4 separate regions of the Homo sapiens genome follow, and all the other regions are linked to region 1. The links are contacts of gene promoters, found by promoter capture Hi-C in human tissues and cell types (Jung and others, 2019). All regions are on one chromosome and are shown on one strand. Each heading gives the region's core, a stretch centred on a gene start or on the middle of the fragment in contact. The rest is flanking DNA. Distances are from core to core; before and after follow the strand shown.

Region 1 (3,858 bases), core at 731-3,230:
GCCCAGGGCTGGCCACTTAGAGATAAGCTTCTCATCCATCCACCCCTCAGGATCACTGTGGATCCCTGGCCTCTCATGAGCGGCCCACAGCCCAGCCCCTGGCCAGCGCCCGTGTGTCCACACACCTTTGGCCCTGCCTGCCCACCGAGGTGTTTGGCTTGTGGGCTGTTGACAGGTCAGCTTCCAGGCAGCCCTTCCCCCACCAGTGCCTGCTCCAAGACTGGCTCTCAGCCCCCTTGACGAGTGGGCAGGTGGACGGGGCCCACAAACCTTCCCCGGCGTGGCCCCCTCCCCCCACCCAGCCGTGAAGGTGGCCCGGTGCTGTGGGAGCGTGGCGACCTGGGGGTCCCCCAGAGCACAGCCCTGCAGGCAGGATGGGGGCCATGACCCCCACACTCCAGGGTCCTCCTAGGAGAGCCAGAGCCAGCCCCACTGGACCCCACGTTCCAAGCCTGGGCCCCGGGCCTACCCCCTCTCCCAGGACACCAGGACAGGGCTCGGCCCTGACATTCTGAGACACGGCAGCCACAGGAGAGCCCAGAGACCTCACCTTGGTGCCTGCTCATGTCGATAAGTCGGGAAGCTACCCGGGCAGCGTTGAGGGCCCCCTCCACCACGCACTCCGGCGGCCCCACGAAGGTGTACACGGTGCGGTTGGTGGAAGGGCCTGCGTCCACATCCAGCAGCACGCAGCCCGGGGTCTGTGTGATGGCTCCAGAGATGGCGTCGATCACCTGGGACACAGGCCCGGCCCCCACACCTCAGTCTCCCCGTTTGAAAGAAGGAAAAGGAGCTTGGAGGTGGCTGCACCCCGAGACACAAATGGGGGCTGAGGAGGCGGGCCAAGCCTTTGGGGGCTCTCCGACAAGCTGAGCTCCCACCGAAAGTGCCCGCACACAGCGGCCGCCCGGGAACCCTCACAGCAGCCACAGTCACTCCAGCCCAAGCACAGTCCCCACAAGGGGCTGCAGGTGGTGCCTCCAGGAGAGACTCACGGGCTCTGCTCCGACAGACAGATGCCAGAGACGTGGCCGGGGATCCAAGAAGGTGACCACAGGCGCAGGTCACAGAGGGGCCGGGACCCCCACCCCCGAGCAGGGGAGGGACAGATCACCAGCATGGGGGAGGGGCCTGAAGGGCCTAGAACCTTCCGGGTGGCAGGACTGCTGGGAGCAGGGGCTCAGCCCCAAATCTTGCCCTGTCCCAGGGCCTTGGTGCTGGCTGGAATCCCGGCATGACGAGGCCTCCCTGCACCCCTGCGGGTGACCCCTGTGGCCTGGTGCTGCGCTCTGGGAGGCCTTCCAGGTGGCCCTTAGGGCCTGCGTTTGTTCCCGGAGGAGCCTGGACCTCAGGGCTGTGGAAGGCGAGAGGCCGGACCTGGGGGCCTGCTGCCCCCTCTGTGCCTACTTCGTTTTGGGTCCAGTGAGGATGGTGGCTGCAGGGTGGGGGCTCAGCAAGCTAACTCCAGTGGAGATGGAGAGGCGGCAGTGGGGACCATGCTGGGCCACCTCGTGTGGCCTCACACAGCCCTTTCAGTCAGTGGCAGGAGCCCCATTTTCAGGGGGGAGCACCAAGGCCCTTTGAGGCCCAGAGATCTGCCCAACCCCCCACCGAAAGCACCCGAAAGGCCCCTGAAGCCACAGCCAAGCCTCAGCCCCCACAAGCACCAGTCGTGTTCCACCCACCCCTGGGTCAGGCACTCCCCAGGGCCCTGAGCCACGGGATGTCCTTGGGGCCCACGGGCAGCGGCTCTGCCCATCCTGGGAAGACGACCCGGGACACCAAGCCCACCACCTCCTCCATGGCCTGGGCCTTAGCCACTCAAGCTGCCCCATCAGCCCTAGATGCTTGACCAGCTCCTCGGGCCTCACCTCCTGGTTCTTCCCCTCCGAAAAGTTGGGGACGCATTCCACCAGCTGGGACATGGCCAGCACCTTGATCCAGATGCTCCTCTCTGGGCAGATGGAAGGACAGGGCCAGTGCTCCGCAGCCGCCGCCAGGGCCTTTATACGCTCACCGGCAGCACCTCCCCACCGGCTTCTCATTAACCAGCAAGGCACAAGGAGCAGTGGGGCCAAGGTCCCTGTGCAGCCGCGGAGTGGGGTGCTGCAGAGCCACCCCGGGTGCTGTTGACCCAGAGGGGATGGCTCCACTCAGCCAGAGTGTGGGTTCCCGGAAAAGAAGCACATGCCAGGGTGAAGGGGCATGTGCCGAGGACCCCCAGGAGCATCAGGCCAGCCTGGCTGGAATCCTGTCGTGACGAGGCCTCCCTGTGCCACTGCGGGTGACCCTCGTGACCCTGTGCTGCCTTCTGGGAGGCCTTCCAGGCAGCCCGTGGGGCCTGCGTTTGTTCCTGGAGGAGCCTGGACCCCTGGGGCTGTGGAGGGCGAGAGGCCAGCATGAGGCCCTGGCTCGCAGCACCCAACTGAGGTCAGCTCAGCTCAGACAGGAGAGTGCAGGGGAGCACGCGTGTGAGAGTGAGTGAGGATACACGTGAGGGCAGGGCAGGGGAACACGTGAGAGTGCAGATACACGTGAGCACAAGGCAGGGGAGCACATGTGTGAGAGCGTGGATACATGTGAGCACAGGACAGGGGAACACGTGTGAGAGTGAGCGAGGATACATGTGAGTGTGGGGTAGGGGAGCACACGTGTGAGAGTGCAGGTACACGTGAGCATGGGGCAGGGGAAGCAAGCATGTGAGAGTGAGTGCAGATACATGTGAGCGCAGGGCAGGGGAACACGCGTGTGAGAGTGCAGATACACACGAGACGGGCATGTGCGATATGGGGGAAGGCAGCTGAGACCCCAGCTCTCCCCAGCTGCTGCTCCCCTGACTACAGGCTCCCCACGAAGTCAGCGGCACCAGGGCCGTGCTCAGAAGGGAGAACTCCTGTCTCCACGTTCAGCCGCTGCCCACTTGCAGTGCTTTTATCATTTTCTCTTTTTTTTTTTTTTGAGACAAAGTCTCACTCTGTCAGCCAGGCTGGAGTGCAGCGGCACAATCATGGCTTCCTGCAGCCTTGGTCCCCAGGCTCAAGAGGTCCTTTCACCTTAGCCTCCTGAGCATCTGGGCCACAGGCACACACCACTACACTGGCTAACTTTTCCATTTTTGGTAGACATGGTGATATGGTTTGGCTGTGTCCCCACCTAAATCTCATCTTGAATTGTAGAGCCCATAGTTCCCACGTCATGGGAGGGACCCGGTGGGAGGTCACTGAATCACGGGGGCGGCTTTTTCCGGTGCTGTTTTTGTGATAGTGAATGGTCTCACGAGATCCGATGGTTTTATAAAGGGCAGTTCCCCTGCACACACCCTCTTGTAAGACGTGACTTTGCTCCTCTTTCACCTTCCACCATGATTGTGGAACTGTTGAGTCCATTAAACTGCTTTTTCTTTAAAAATTACCCAGTCTTGCGTATGTCTTTATCAGACAAATACACATGAGGTCTCACCACGTTGCCCAGGCTGGTCTCAAACTCCTGGGCTCAAGCGATCCTCCTGCCTCGGCCTCCCAAAGTGCTGGAATTACAAGTGTGAGCCACTGAGCCCAGCCCCACTTGAAGTTCTTTTTTTTTTTTTTTTTTTTTTTTGAGACAGGGTCTCGCTCTGTCGCCCAGGCTGGAGTGCAGTGGTGCGATCTTGGCTCACTGCAAGCTCTGCCTCCCGGGTTCACGCCATTCTCCTGCCTCAGCCTCCAGAGTAGCTGGGACTACAGGCACCCGCTACCACACCCAGCTAATTTTTTGTATTTTTAGTAGAGATGGGGTTTCACCATGTTGGCCAGGATGGTCTCGATCTCTTGACCTCATGATCCACCCACCTCGGTCTCCCAAAGTGCTGGGATTACAGGC
Region 2 (3,858 bases), core at 738-3,237, 120 kb before region 1:
GTTCTCATTCTGGCTCTGTGCCAACCTTAAGTGTGATCTCAAGGAGCTCACTCACTTTCCTTACCTCAGATATAAAGCAGAGTCCAAGTTTTAAGCAGAAAAAATAGCACCCAACCCCCTGTCCCCCCTCCACACACACTCATACATTAGAGTTTAACTACAGAACCTCAGGGATAAGGATGGAATAACCTGCAAAGGAACAATTAGATCAACAGCAGACTTCTCATCCAGATGAATAGAATCAAGAAAACAATGAAGAAATAGCTCCAACTACAACCTATTTTATACCCAGCTAAGGTTTTACTCAAGAGTGAAGGTATAATAAGAATAATTGAATGTGTCCTAAAAGAATGAACTGTTGTTTTAAACTGGACTTTAGAAAAACTATAGTGGGCTCAGAACAATGTCTCCAGGCAGCAGAGAGCTCTCAAAGCAAGAAAGGTCCTCAGGGCAAAAATAAAACCCAGGTCATTGTCAGCAAAATGTAGTCTCAGAGTAAAGATGAAGCCACACATCTGACACAAAATTATTGTTAAGATTTTTGGTAGCTGGAAGTTGGATTCTGCTGAAAAAAAAAAAACCTGAAATTTTGTTAATTTGGGAAGTAGACAGCGGGCAGAAATCTGATGGGCCTTGATAAGGCTACTGGTTAGAGTTTAAAGAGAAGTAATTAAAATGTTCTTGGAAGTGGAGATAAAGGGAGTTCTTGTTACATGGTGTGGAAGTTTGGCAACACTGTCACCTGAGGGAACATGGAAAATAGAAAATATTCCTAATAAACTGATGACCTAGCTAAGGCAATTTCTGGGCAGGGGGTGTTGAAGATGCTTCCTGGATTCTTTCAGCTGCCTGTAATAAAATTCAAGAGCAAAGAGGTGAACTGAGAAACTTTTCAATTTTCAAGTAAAATTTAGAGAAATTATAGAGGAACAGTCTGTCTTGCCAGAATATGATTCTCAAAGTAAAATCAAGCTTAAGGATAAAAATCAAATCCAGGTCACTGTTCAGATAACATGGTCTCAGAGTAATATAAAACCAAGGATAGGACTATTTTAAATAGGGTCTTAAGAGGTCCCTAGTTAAGACCTCTGCTGTGGTCTGAATGTGTTCCACAAAATTCATGTGTTGGCAAATTGGTCCCCAGTGCGGTGGTGCTGGGAGGTGGGGCCTGTTGGGAGGTGTTTAGGTCATGAGGGCTCTATCCTCATGAATGCATCTGTGTTGTAAAAAGGGCTTTGGGGAGTGGATTTCCCTTCCACTCTCCACCGTGTAAGGACACTGCACGAAGCCCTTCACCAGATTCTGGTGCCTTGATCATGGACTTCTCAGCCTCCAGAATTGTAGGAAATAAATTTCTGATCTTTATAAATTACAGTCTGTGGCATTTGTTATAGCAGCACAAAAGGACTAAAGACAGCCTCAGAAATATTTAAAGTAATGCCTCAAAGACCATTTCAAATAAGTGACTTTCTAAGGATCGTACAGATGTGCCTTTTATGTTAACCAATAGATATTCTAAGAATCTGAAGATCACCATCCCACAGTAGCCTCACAGAGAACCTAAGGTACAGAAGAATCTTTTTTAGGTGTGGCCTTTTTTTTTTTTTTTTCCCCGACAGAGTCTCACTCTGTGGCTGGGCTGGAGTGCAGTGGTGCGATCTCAGCTCACTGCAATCTCCGCCTCCCAGGTTCAAGCGATTCTCCTGCCTCAGCCTCCCACATAGCTGGGATTACAGGCACGCGCCACCACACCCAGCTAACTTTTGTATTTTTAGTAGACACGGGGTTTCACCAGGTTGGCCAGGATGGTCTCGATCTCCTGACCTCGTGAACCGCCCACCTCGGCCTCCCAAAGTGCTGGGATTACAGGCATGAGCCACCACATCCAGCAGGTATGGCTTTTATCTAATGCAATTTATATAAACTAAAACCCACAATATTTCTAAAGGAATCATATCAACTTTATCTAAAAGGAACAGAGACGATACCAACTTACAAGAAGTCTTTGGGCCCCTGCACTTCTACAAGAAGGAAGTAGATAAAACAACAACAAACCTCAGCTGCAAACACTGGTCATTTCTTATGAAAGATAAAAGATGACTCCGAGGGTCACAGAAGCACTCAGAGAACAGAGCTGTGGCACGTGTCAGTACCTCACTTCCGGCTGTGGGTGAGTAACAGTTTACTCTGCGGCTACACCACATCGCGTTCGTCCATTCACCAATCGATGGGCACCTATCAGCTGAGTGATGCTGCTGTGCCTTTGTGTGAGCGTGTGGTGGTTGTTTTCAGTTCTCTTGGCCTGGGCCTAGGAGAGGAAGAGCTGGGTGTCCTTTAGCGCAGCTGTCTTGGTGAACGCGAAGCAGTACCTCACTGTGGTGTTTCCTGACATTTCCCTGACGTCTAACAACGTCGAAGACGTTTCCACATGTGGATTAGCAGTTTGTAAGTCTTCTTTGGAGCAGTGTCTCGCCGAGTCCTTTGTTCACTTCTAAAGTGGGTTCTTGGTCTTCTTATTACAGGGTTGTAGCAATTCTTCATATATCCTGGATTATAGACTGTTATGACATATGTGATTTGCAAATGTTTTTCCTATTTTGTGAGTTATATTTTAATTTTCTCAAGTGCCTTCAGAAGGACAGAATGTTTGATTTTTACGAAGCCTGATTTATCTTTTTTTTTTTTTTTGTAGCTTGTGCTTTTGATGTCATTGCTAATGAACCATTACCTAATCCAAGGTCCTGATGATGGCTGCCTCTGTGTTTTCTATGAGGTTTAGGTCATTGATTCATCTAAGTTAATTTCTGCATCTGGTGTGAGGTGGAACATAAATCCATGCTTTTGCACATGACTATGCAGTTGACCCCCCACCGTTTGTCAAATAGACTTTCTCTCCCATTGAATGTGCATCACCCTTGCTGAAAATCAACGGACTACAAGTGTGAAGGTTTGTCTCTGGACCCTACTCTGTTCCGTTTTTCCGTGTGTCCGTCCTTAAGCCAGCACCATGCCACCCTGATTACTGTGGCTTTGAAACTGGGACGTGTGAGTGACCCAAATTGGTTCTTACTTTTCCAGATGGTTTTGACAATGCTGCGTTCCTTGAATTTCCAACAGTGGGATCATACTTCACAATGAGATTTGGAGGAGACACACATCCACCACATAGCTTAGGAGAAGGGGCTGCAAGCCACGGACACAGGCAGAAGCTGGGCTCGGAGCTGGAGCTGGAAAAGGCGAGGACAGGGGTTCTCCCTGGAGCCCCAGGAGGGGATGGAGCCTGTAGGCACTTTGGTTTTAGTCCAGTGAGACCCACGTGGACTTTCATTGCAATGTAAACTAATAGATTTGTGTTGTCTTAGCTTTTATATTTACTTCCTAACTTCTTTTGGATAACAAAGAGGTTATCCAAAAGATCCATAACCATCTGAAAAGTGCTTAAAACCATTAGTTATCAGGAAAATATACATTTAAAATTACAACGAGTTACCACTACACACTCACCAAAATGTTCAAAATTAAACCATCAGTACAAGCGTTGGAAGCATACAGAACCACCAAACACCGGGCTTGGGAGGGGGCAGCTGACACACCCAGTCCCGGGCCTCGGAGAGGGCGGCTGACACCCCCAGTCCCGGGCCTCGGAGGGGGCGGCTGACACCCCCAGTCCCGGGCCTCGGAGGGGGCGGCTGACACCCCCAGTCCCGGGCCTCGGAGGGGGCGGCTGACACCCCCAGTCCCGGGCCTCGGAGGGGGCGGCTGACACCCCCAGTCCCTTTGGCAAACCGCTTCGCAGTATCCACTGACGCTAAGTACCCCTCTGACGATGACGCAGTCCCATGTCTAGGTATTTATGCA
Region 3 (3,858 bases), core at 402-2,901, 110 kb after region 1:
CCTGTCGGGACCATGCCCACCCTGAGGCCACAACCATCAAGGGGCACATCCACCCCCAGGCCAGGCTGGTCAAGGGGCTCACCCACCCCCAGGCCATGCCCATCAGGGTGCACAGCCAGAGACCACACACACCAGAGGGGACACGACCACCCCGAGGCCACGCCTATCAGGGGGCACAGCCACCCCAGCCATGCCCATCAGGGGGCACACCCGCCAGGGGACACGCCCATCCCAGGTCACACCCATCAGTGGGGACACCCAACCCCAGGACATGCCCTTCAGGGGACACACCCACACTCAGTCCATGCATATTGGGGTCCCATCAGGGGGACATGCCCACTCCAGGCCACACCCAAGGGGACACACCCACCCAGGCCACACCCACCAGGCGGACACGCCACCCCAGGTCACACCCATCAGGGGGCGCACAATGCTGCCAATGATCCCGTCAGGAATAGACGGGTGTTGAGTTCAGACACACGGGCTCAGGCCGGTGCTGTGACAGGAAGCTCCTGAGATGAAGACGGACTCCAGAATGAGCCTGAATAGGTGGGCCCTACCTGAGGCTGAGTGACTCTAGGCAGGACCCCTCTCTGGACTCTCCTGAGAGACCAGGCGCCACAGCCCCACCTCATGGGGTGATGACTAAGGACGTTTGCGCACAATGGGCTTCCCAGAGTCCAGACCTAGAAAAAAAGAGTCCCTACCTCGTCAGAGTACATGGGCACGGGCTCTGGAGGCGGTGGTTCAGGCTGCACAGACAGCTGGAAGAGGCTGGGCGCCACAGACGGGGTCAGTGCCAGGACAGGAGGCAGAGGCACTGGTGAGGGCGCAGGGGCTGGTAGAGACTGTGGGAGACTGGACAGGGGTGCATCCGGCTCTACACCACACTCCTCTCCTCTCCCTCCGCCTGGAAGGAAACATACAGGACAAAACATAGCTGCAGACACAGGGTGCCTGGCACCACGGGGACCGAGGTCTGTGCAGGGACAGCCCCAGGCCACCCACAGTGACCCTGAGGACTGGCCTGCCCTCCAGGAGACCAGCTACGTGGGACAACATACGCTTTGCATGAAAAACAAGCCCCAGGATGTCAGGGAGCCAGGAGGAGGGCTTCAAAGCCCTCAGTCCACTCCCAGTGAGAACCATCTGAGCATGAGGAAGAGCCACACCCCTGGGCCCCAAGACAAGACAGGTGCTCAGGCTCCTGGGAGGCGTCCTGGCGAGAAAATGCAGATGCCCAGGCTCCTGGGAGGCGTTCTGGTGGGAAAATGCAGCTAGTCCCCTCACTACGACTGCAGCTTCACTCACCCACTGTGTCGGAGCCGGGTCTCTGGGTGCTGACGGGCAGCTCCGCGGCCAGGCTCTCCCCGATGTACTTGTTCTGGGAGTTGAAGCTGCACACAGGGGTATGACGAGGGACGGGGGGCAATGGCCCTCCGTTCACAATTTCCCCGACTGACACCGTCAGCTTCCTAGTAATAAACACCGACTTCCTGGTCTTGGATAATCCCTCTGGTTCCAGGAATGCAGACCGGTTCAGCTCCACACAGCTACCCAGACCACAAAAGACCCCCGAGGGGTGTCACCAGGGGAGAAGACAGCTTCGCCCTCAGTGCCCTGCCGAGTACTGCAAGCCCCTTGGGTGTCACCACAGCCATGTGTAAATAACAGAAAGCACAGGCGCCAGGTCCCACTGCCGCCCACCCTGGAGCCTCTGTAGGTCCCTAGAACCACTAAGCCCAGCGTGTTAACAGACGCACGCTGACTCACTCCTGCCTCCTTGCTGGCTCACCCAAAACCGTCTAATTTTCTGAGGACAGAACTGGAAGGAGGAGACAGAACTAGAAGGAGACAGAACTGGAAGGAGGAGACAGGCAGGAGGCAGGTGAGGAGTTAGAGGAGACAGGGTGGGGAACTAGGCACCGGGTGTTGAGTGTAAGCTGCCAGTTTCTGAGAGAGCGTCTGTGAGTCTCACCACTCTGACTGGTAAGTACCGGAGAAGACTCCGGCTGGCCTGCGGGTGCCTCCATCCCAGCCGTCAGAGGTTGTCCGTCATTGGCTGGCAAAGGCAGTCAAGGGAAAGAATAAAGAAGGCCCTAACTTTTATCTTTAGGTTTGTCAGCAAGTCATGAAAAGGACTGATTTTGGAGTCACAAAGAACTTGGTCTGAGCCCTCAATGTGCTGACAGCCAGGATGTGACCTTGGGAACACCCCCAGCCATTCTGAGTCTCGTGTGTTCACCTGCATGGCAGAGGGAATGCACCTTCTTCAAGTCAGGCAAGCAGCCAGCCCTTCACAGCCCTTCATCAGAATTAACAAGAAAAAAGGAGACAGGGGCCCCACAGTTCCATTCTCAGCTCTTACCCGTCGGAAACGGTGAGGCCGTGGCAGGTGAGGAAGTCGGTGGCCTCTTCACAGTCTCTGAACAGCAGCATGCGCACCACACCATCCAGGGGAAAGATGGTAGATCGCTGTGTGCTCACCGTGTACGCAAAGTTGAGCGCCCGGAGAGCATCCTTGCGGATCTGAGAGGAGGAGCGAAATCACTGCAGTCTCAGACGAAGGCCCAGTCAGACACATGCAGTCAGCCCATGACCACAGCCATGGCCAGCGTGGGGCACATGGGCTCCTCCTGGGCTGAGTCCACCAGAAGGCGCTTTGGCAACACGGAACCCAAGCTTAGAGATCATAGGCGGTCTGCTCAGGGGCAGTGCTCAGGAATGCGTGCCAAGCAAACACTCTCATAGAGAAGGATGGCTTGTGAAGGTTTTATTCATAAGAGAAATCATGAAACAAACTGTCCATCAACAAGACCAGGTGAAGTCAGCTGTGCAGCATCCACATGACAAAAGGCCAGGAAGGTGCTGCAGAGGACCCCGGAGACCATGGAATGCCAGCAGGAAACCAATCCCGTGGAATGACATATAATAGTTGGAGACAACTGTTCACGGCATTCTAACAAGAGCCTTAAAAAAAAAAAAAGAAGACAGAGACCAGGTGCAGTAGCTCATACCTGTAATCCCAGCACTTTGGGAGGCCAAGGTGGGAGGATCACTTGAGCCCAGGAATTCAAGACCAGCCTGGGCAACATAGCTACATCCTATTCTCTATAAAAAAAAATTTGTTTTAATTAGTGGGGCTTGGTGGCATGCACCTGTGGTCCCAGCAACATGGGAGGCTAAAGTGGGAGGACTGCTTGAGCCCAAGAGGTTGAGGCTGCAGTAAGCCTTGATCACACCACTGCACTCCAGCCTAGGTGACAGAGTGAGAACCAGTGTCTTAAAAAAAAGACAATGGGGCTGGGTGTGGTGGCTCACGCCTGTAATCCCAGCACTTTGGGAGGCCAAGGCAGGCGGGTCACTTGAAGCCAGGAGTTTGAGACCAGCCTGGCCAACATGGTGAAACCCCATCTCTACTAAAAATACAAAAATTAGCTGGGTGTGGTGGCACGCACCTGTAATACCAGCTACTAGGGAGGCTGAGGCAGGAGAATCACTTCAACCCGGGAGGTGGAGGTTTCAGTGAGCCGAGATCATGCCACTGCACTCCAGCCTGGGTGACAAAGTGAGACTCCATCTCAAAAAAATAAATAAATAAAAATAAAAGTAAAAATAGACAAAGGAAAAACATGAAAATCCGAACAAAAATTCTGCTTGAGTGCTGGGACTTTGGTACCTAAGCTGTTAGTCCTCTTCCGATGTTCTTTAATTCAACCAACACTGATCAAGCATTTGCTCTGTGCCTGGCACCGTTTTTAATGCTGAGAGTACAACAGTGAACAAAAACACAATCCCTGTCCCCACATAGCTGACATGCCAGGGGAGAGACCAATGCCACAGAAAACAAACACATCA
Region 4 (3,858 bases), core at 515-3,014, 88 kb after region 1:
AGAAGGCATCTGACATTTTTTTCTAAACACATGCCAATGTTTGTCTTTTCCCCACTAATTTCAATAATTTGGCCTAACACTTTTGTCACATATTCTGACTCTTTATTCTGATCCATTTATCTACTCTGGCATCCCCACATGGTTTTAAGTACTGGAGCTTTACTGTATGTCTTGGTATCAGGCCAAGCAAACCATGTTAGTCTTATTTAAAACTTTCTCAGCAATTGATGCATATTTGTTTATCCTGATGAATTTTAGAACTTACCAGTACTGACATCTTCACAGCATTGTATCCTGTCAACAACCTAGTCTGAACCTCAATGGTTCAGGTTTCCTTTGCACATACAGGCCCTGAGAACTCATATGTTAATGAGAAAGACATTCCGGGAAACCAGGAGGTGAGGAGACCAAGGATTAGGCTCCACTCCTATTATGAAGATGAACAGTTTTTAGAGTATCATGGAGTTGGAGAAGGTACTTCAAGGATCTCTATGGGGAACAAGAAGGAACAGCAAAGTTCCACCATCCTGTGCCCTTTCTGTTCAGGTTTATTGTTGTGAATGAGAATTTTTTTTTTTTTAACATGTTGTGGATCTATCTATCTGATCACCTTATTGAACTGAGAATGGTTCTATGGACTTGACTTTTCTTGGACTGACAACTGTACTGTCTGGAAATGACAGTTTCTCCTTCCTTTCAGTATTTGTGCCTGTCTATCCCACATCCCTGTACTGGTCAGGATTTCCAGGACAATAGTGAATAATAGTCGGGACAACAGGCTGGTTCTGATTCCACTGTTCCTAACATTCTACCAAGAAGCATGTTTTTTTTCTATTTTGGTAGTTTTATGTTAGGTAGCCTTATCAAGTTAGGACTTTTTTTTTTTTTAACCCAAGCTAAAGAAAGTACCCAAAATAAAGAAATTTTATCAGGAACAGGTATAAATTTTAAGAAACGTATTTCAACGCCTGCTAAAATTACCACTTATTTTTCTATTATGGCAACAAATTACATTAATAGATTTTCACTGTTATTGTTTATCCTGGGAGAAAGCATACTTGTGAACTTTTTTAGGTACTGTGCTTTGGAACCAAATTTGGAAGTGAGATGAAATGTCAGCTGTACTCTCCTGGTTAGGTATGATTTCAGGGTCAGGTATGCCTGATAAATGAAGTGAGATGCTTTAACTTTGTTCTAGAATAGTTTCTACTGCATGGGAATGATCTGTTCCTTGAGGATTTGTCACAGTCTGCCCACAGTGGACTGGATTTGGCATGTAGGATGTTAATTTCTATTTACTTTGCAAGAAAAATACAGTTTAGCAAGCAACAGAAACATACTGAACATGAACCTCACCGTCCCTCTCTCAGCTGTAGCTCCTTCTGCGTCTGCAACCTGGCTTGTTCCCACGACAAAGGAACATCATATTTTTTCAAATCGTTTTTAAAAAAATACACACATATCTGACCATCTTCACTCAGCGCCTCTGAGAAAACAATACAAAAACAGATAAAGAGGCCAGCCTGGCCAACCCTGTCTCAAAAAAAAAAAAAACACACACAAAAAAACAAAAACAGGTACAAATAATATTTAAACAGCGACAGGTGGCATGTGCTTAAATTCACTGATTTAAGTGCAAGACCTTTGATTAAAGTCACACAATTATGTGACTTCCACACTTGGGTTAAATAGGCTCCCAGGGTCCATGCATCACTCAAAGTCCAGACAAGCTTACATCGAGACTGGCAGGGCCAGTAATGACTACTCAAAAGCCACAAAATCCTCTCTAAGAGCCATCCTAGGGGGCCTGTTTCAGGGAGGTGAGTTCAGGCTCTACCAGAAACTTCCTAGCCTGTCTCAATGTTTTTAAGTCACTCACTTGAAGAGGGAAGTCCTAAGGAAAGGAAGGATAGAGACCCAAAAGAAAAGCAGCAACATCAACTAAACATCTTCCTTTGCAGAAACTGGACCAGGAAAGTCTCGTGAGGAGCTGATCCCATTGCATCAAGCTCTAATTACCTGATGTAACAGGAAGCCGGGGGGGCGTCCAGTCTCTCAGCTTGTGGTTGATACACAAGGCGATAAGATCATCCCATGGGATCTCCATGACCGAGGGGCCTGCCCCATGGACTGGGGAGGGACTCTTGCTCTTCCACCTACAGTAGGTTCTGTGGAGCAGGTTCTCCACCTGGGACTGGAGGACAGGCTGTGTCTGGCGTGAGCTGGGGATCTGGGAGGCGTACTGGACAACCATGGAGCACACGGGGAGCCAGGGGGCTGGGGAGAAAGTGCCTCATTAGTTACAGGTTTGGCCAAAATACAGGTGAAAATGTACATGAAAACATTTTCTCAGGAGAAGGCAACTGTGAAGTTGAGAAGTCTGCTTTCTAAACACAGCAGAACCACAGTTGTTGAGGGGGAAGAGCAGCTTGCTCCCAGGGTCTAGGTGAGGGATGCAGACAGTCCCCCTTAACAGTGTTGCTAGCCAAGTTCTACCCAGAAGTTCTGACTGTACAGGCCTGTGGTTGTGCCTAGGAAATCTGTATTTTAACAAGCACCCAGATGAGTCTGGTATAAGCAGTCTTAGCTTATTTTGGGGAACCCCAACCTAACCAGAGCACCGAGGGCTTGTGCTGAGTGGTTTGCTTCCCTTTGGGTTCCTTCAATAATGAGCATGAGTTAGACCTACTACAGACCACACACCACAATTTAGAAGGGCGCCTGAGGCCCAAAGGGGAGTGTCTGTGCTAATGCCACAACTTCTGCCAGATAAGCAGCTCATTCCCTTCTGAGTGCATAGGAAGGAGCAGCCCCATGCCATACTGGGCTTGAGCCAGCCAGATGGCCTGTCGGATCTGTGTCAAAACAGCCCAAAGACCTCAGCCAGGAACAGGGGCACAGCCAGAGCCATAGAAGAAGGCCTCTTTGACAAAGAAAGAATGTTAAATCAGCACTGAGTGCCATGGCTGCGGCTTGGGGACAGGGCTACATGGTCCCCATGCTCTTTGCCCCTTGTCTGTTCTGAAAACAGGGACCCTGTGGGCAGGCAGGACAGGATCAGGGTTGGTGTTCCTCCCAGTACCACTTGTCACTTTTCTCCTGAAGCTGAGTGAACTCCCATGGACTGCCTTGCTGGTCAGGAAAGGCTAACAGCCCCCACTCCACAAAACCCAGCTTGTTCTGGCTCATGAACCCAAAGGACCAAAGGAAGGTGCAGGCGAGCACAGCATGGAGACACACGGAGGTGGACGTGCAGCCCTCACACTGGTGCCCAACACCTGCCAGACGGTTACTACAGTGAGAAGGAAGCCTGAGACTTGGCTGCAGCCACCCACCAGACCTCCCCAGGTCAAGCACGTACCCCCCAGGGGTGGAAGGTCCATCTGCGGAAGCTGGAACCCGAGCACAGCCTGCTTCAGCCAGGCCAGGTGCTCTGGGGCATTCCAGTGCAGGTGAGGAAGCAGCCGGCTGCCCCCTGCCTCAGCAAACTCAGTGACAGGCCAGGACAGGTCACACAGCTGTTCAGAGGACACCACAGAAGCCAGGAACTGCAGCACACTGTTAAACAGCTCAATGATGGCGCCAGGCTCCTGAGAAGCAAGACCGCCCAGACGCCTCTCTCTTCTGTCATGGAAAAAGCGGCCACTAAACTCATGGCCAATCCCGTCTTCGACGTACTGAATGAGAGTCTGGCAGCAGAGGTCAAGGGAATGGGGGCAGTGGGAAACCAGCCACTGCACTGCTTGCAAAACCTGAGAAGAAAGAAGAGACTTGGTTGAACAATTCACACTGTTTTTCAAAAACAGCTTTCTGAAAGGGCTTGATCCCCCAAGGTTGCCCACAGCAGGTAATACCAGA

What was found. Contacts are between HindIII fragments. The study calls those that stand out against the background at their distance.
Region 2: a contact is called between a fragment that was not itself captured here and the fragment with the promoter of FTCD in region 1, in 2 of the 25 tissues and cell types used here (H1 embryonic stem cells and mesenchymal stem cells).
Region 3: a contact is called between a fragment that was not itself captured here and the fragment with the promoter of FTCD in region 1, in 2 of the 25 tissues and cell types used here (mesenchymal stem cells and spleen).
Region 4: a contact is called between a fragment that was not itself captured here and the fragment with the promoter of FTCD in region 1, in 5 of the 25 tissues and cell types used here (IMR-90 fibroblasts, dorsolateral prefrontal cortex, lymphoblastoid cells and 2 more).

Annotation. Positions count from the first base shown.
Region 1 is chr21:46,153,599-46,157,456 of GRCh38, forward strand. FTCD (formimidoyltransferase cyclodeaminase) reads right to left here and starts at 1,981. Exons shown (of 14, transcript NM_206965.2): 1 at 1,872-1,981; 2 at 551-734. The coding sequence starts at 1,925. RefSeq lists enhancers at 1-346, 347-1,050, 1,051-1,754. The HindIII fragment of the contact is 26,017 bases long and covers 1-3,858 here.
Region 2 is chr21:46,029,493-46,033,350 of GRCh38, forward strand. No RefSeq gene overlaps it. Among named protein-coding and RNA genes, the nearest start is that of COL6A1, 50 kb to the left of the region's middle. The HindIII fragment of the contact is 8,914 bases long and covers 1-3,858 here.
Region 3 is chr21:46,264,614-46,268,471 of GRCh38, forward strand. It overlaps MCM3AP (minichromosome maintenance complex component 3 associated protein), which reads right to left. Exons shown (of 28, transcript NM_003906.5): 10 at 2,369-2,529; 11 at 1,312-1,553; 12 at 708-910. Among named protein-coding and RNA genes, the nearest start is that of MCM3AP, 19 kb to the right of the region's middle. The HindIII fragment of the contact is 5,088 bases long and covers 1-3,858 here.
Region 4 is chr21:46,241,446-46,245,303 of GRCh38, forward strand. It overlaps MCM3AP (minichromosome maintenance complex component 3 associated protein), which reads right to left. Exons shown (of 28, transcript NM_003906.5): 23 at 3,362-3,752; 24 at 2,020-2,277; 25 at 1,357-1,486. All of the region lies in intron 3 of MCM3AP-AS1 (MCM3AP antisense RNA 1), which reads left to right. Among named protein-coding and RNA genes, the nearest start is that of MCM3AP-AS1, 14 kb to the left of the region's middle. The HindIII fragment of the contact is 7,439 bases long and covers 1-3,858 here.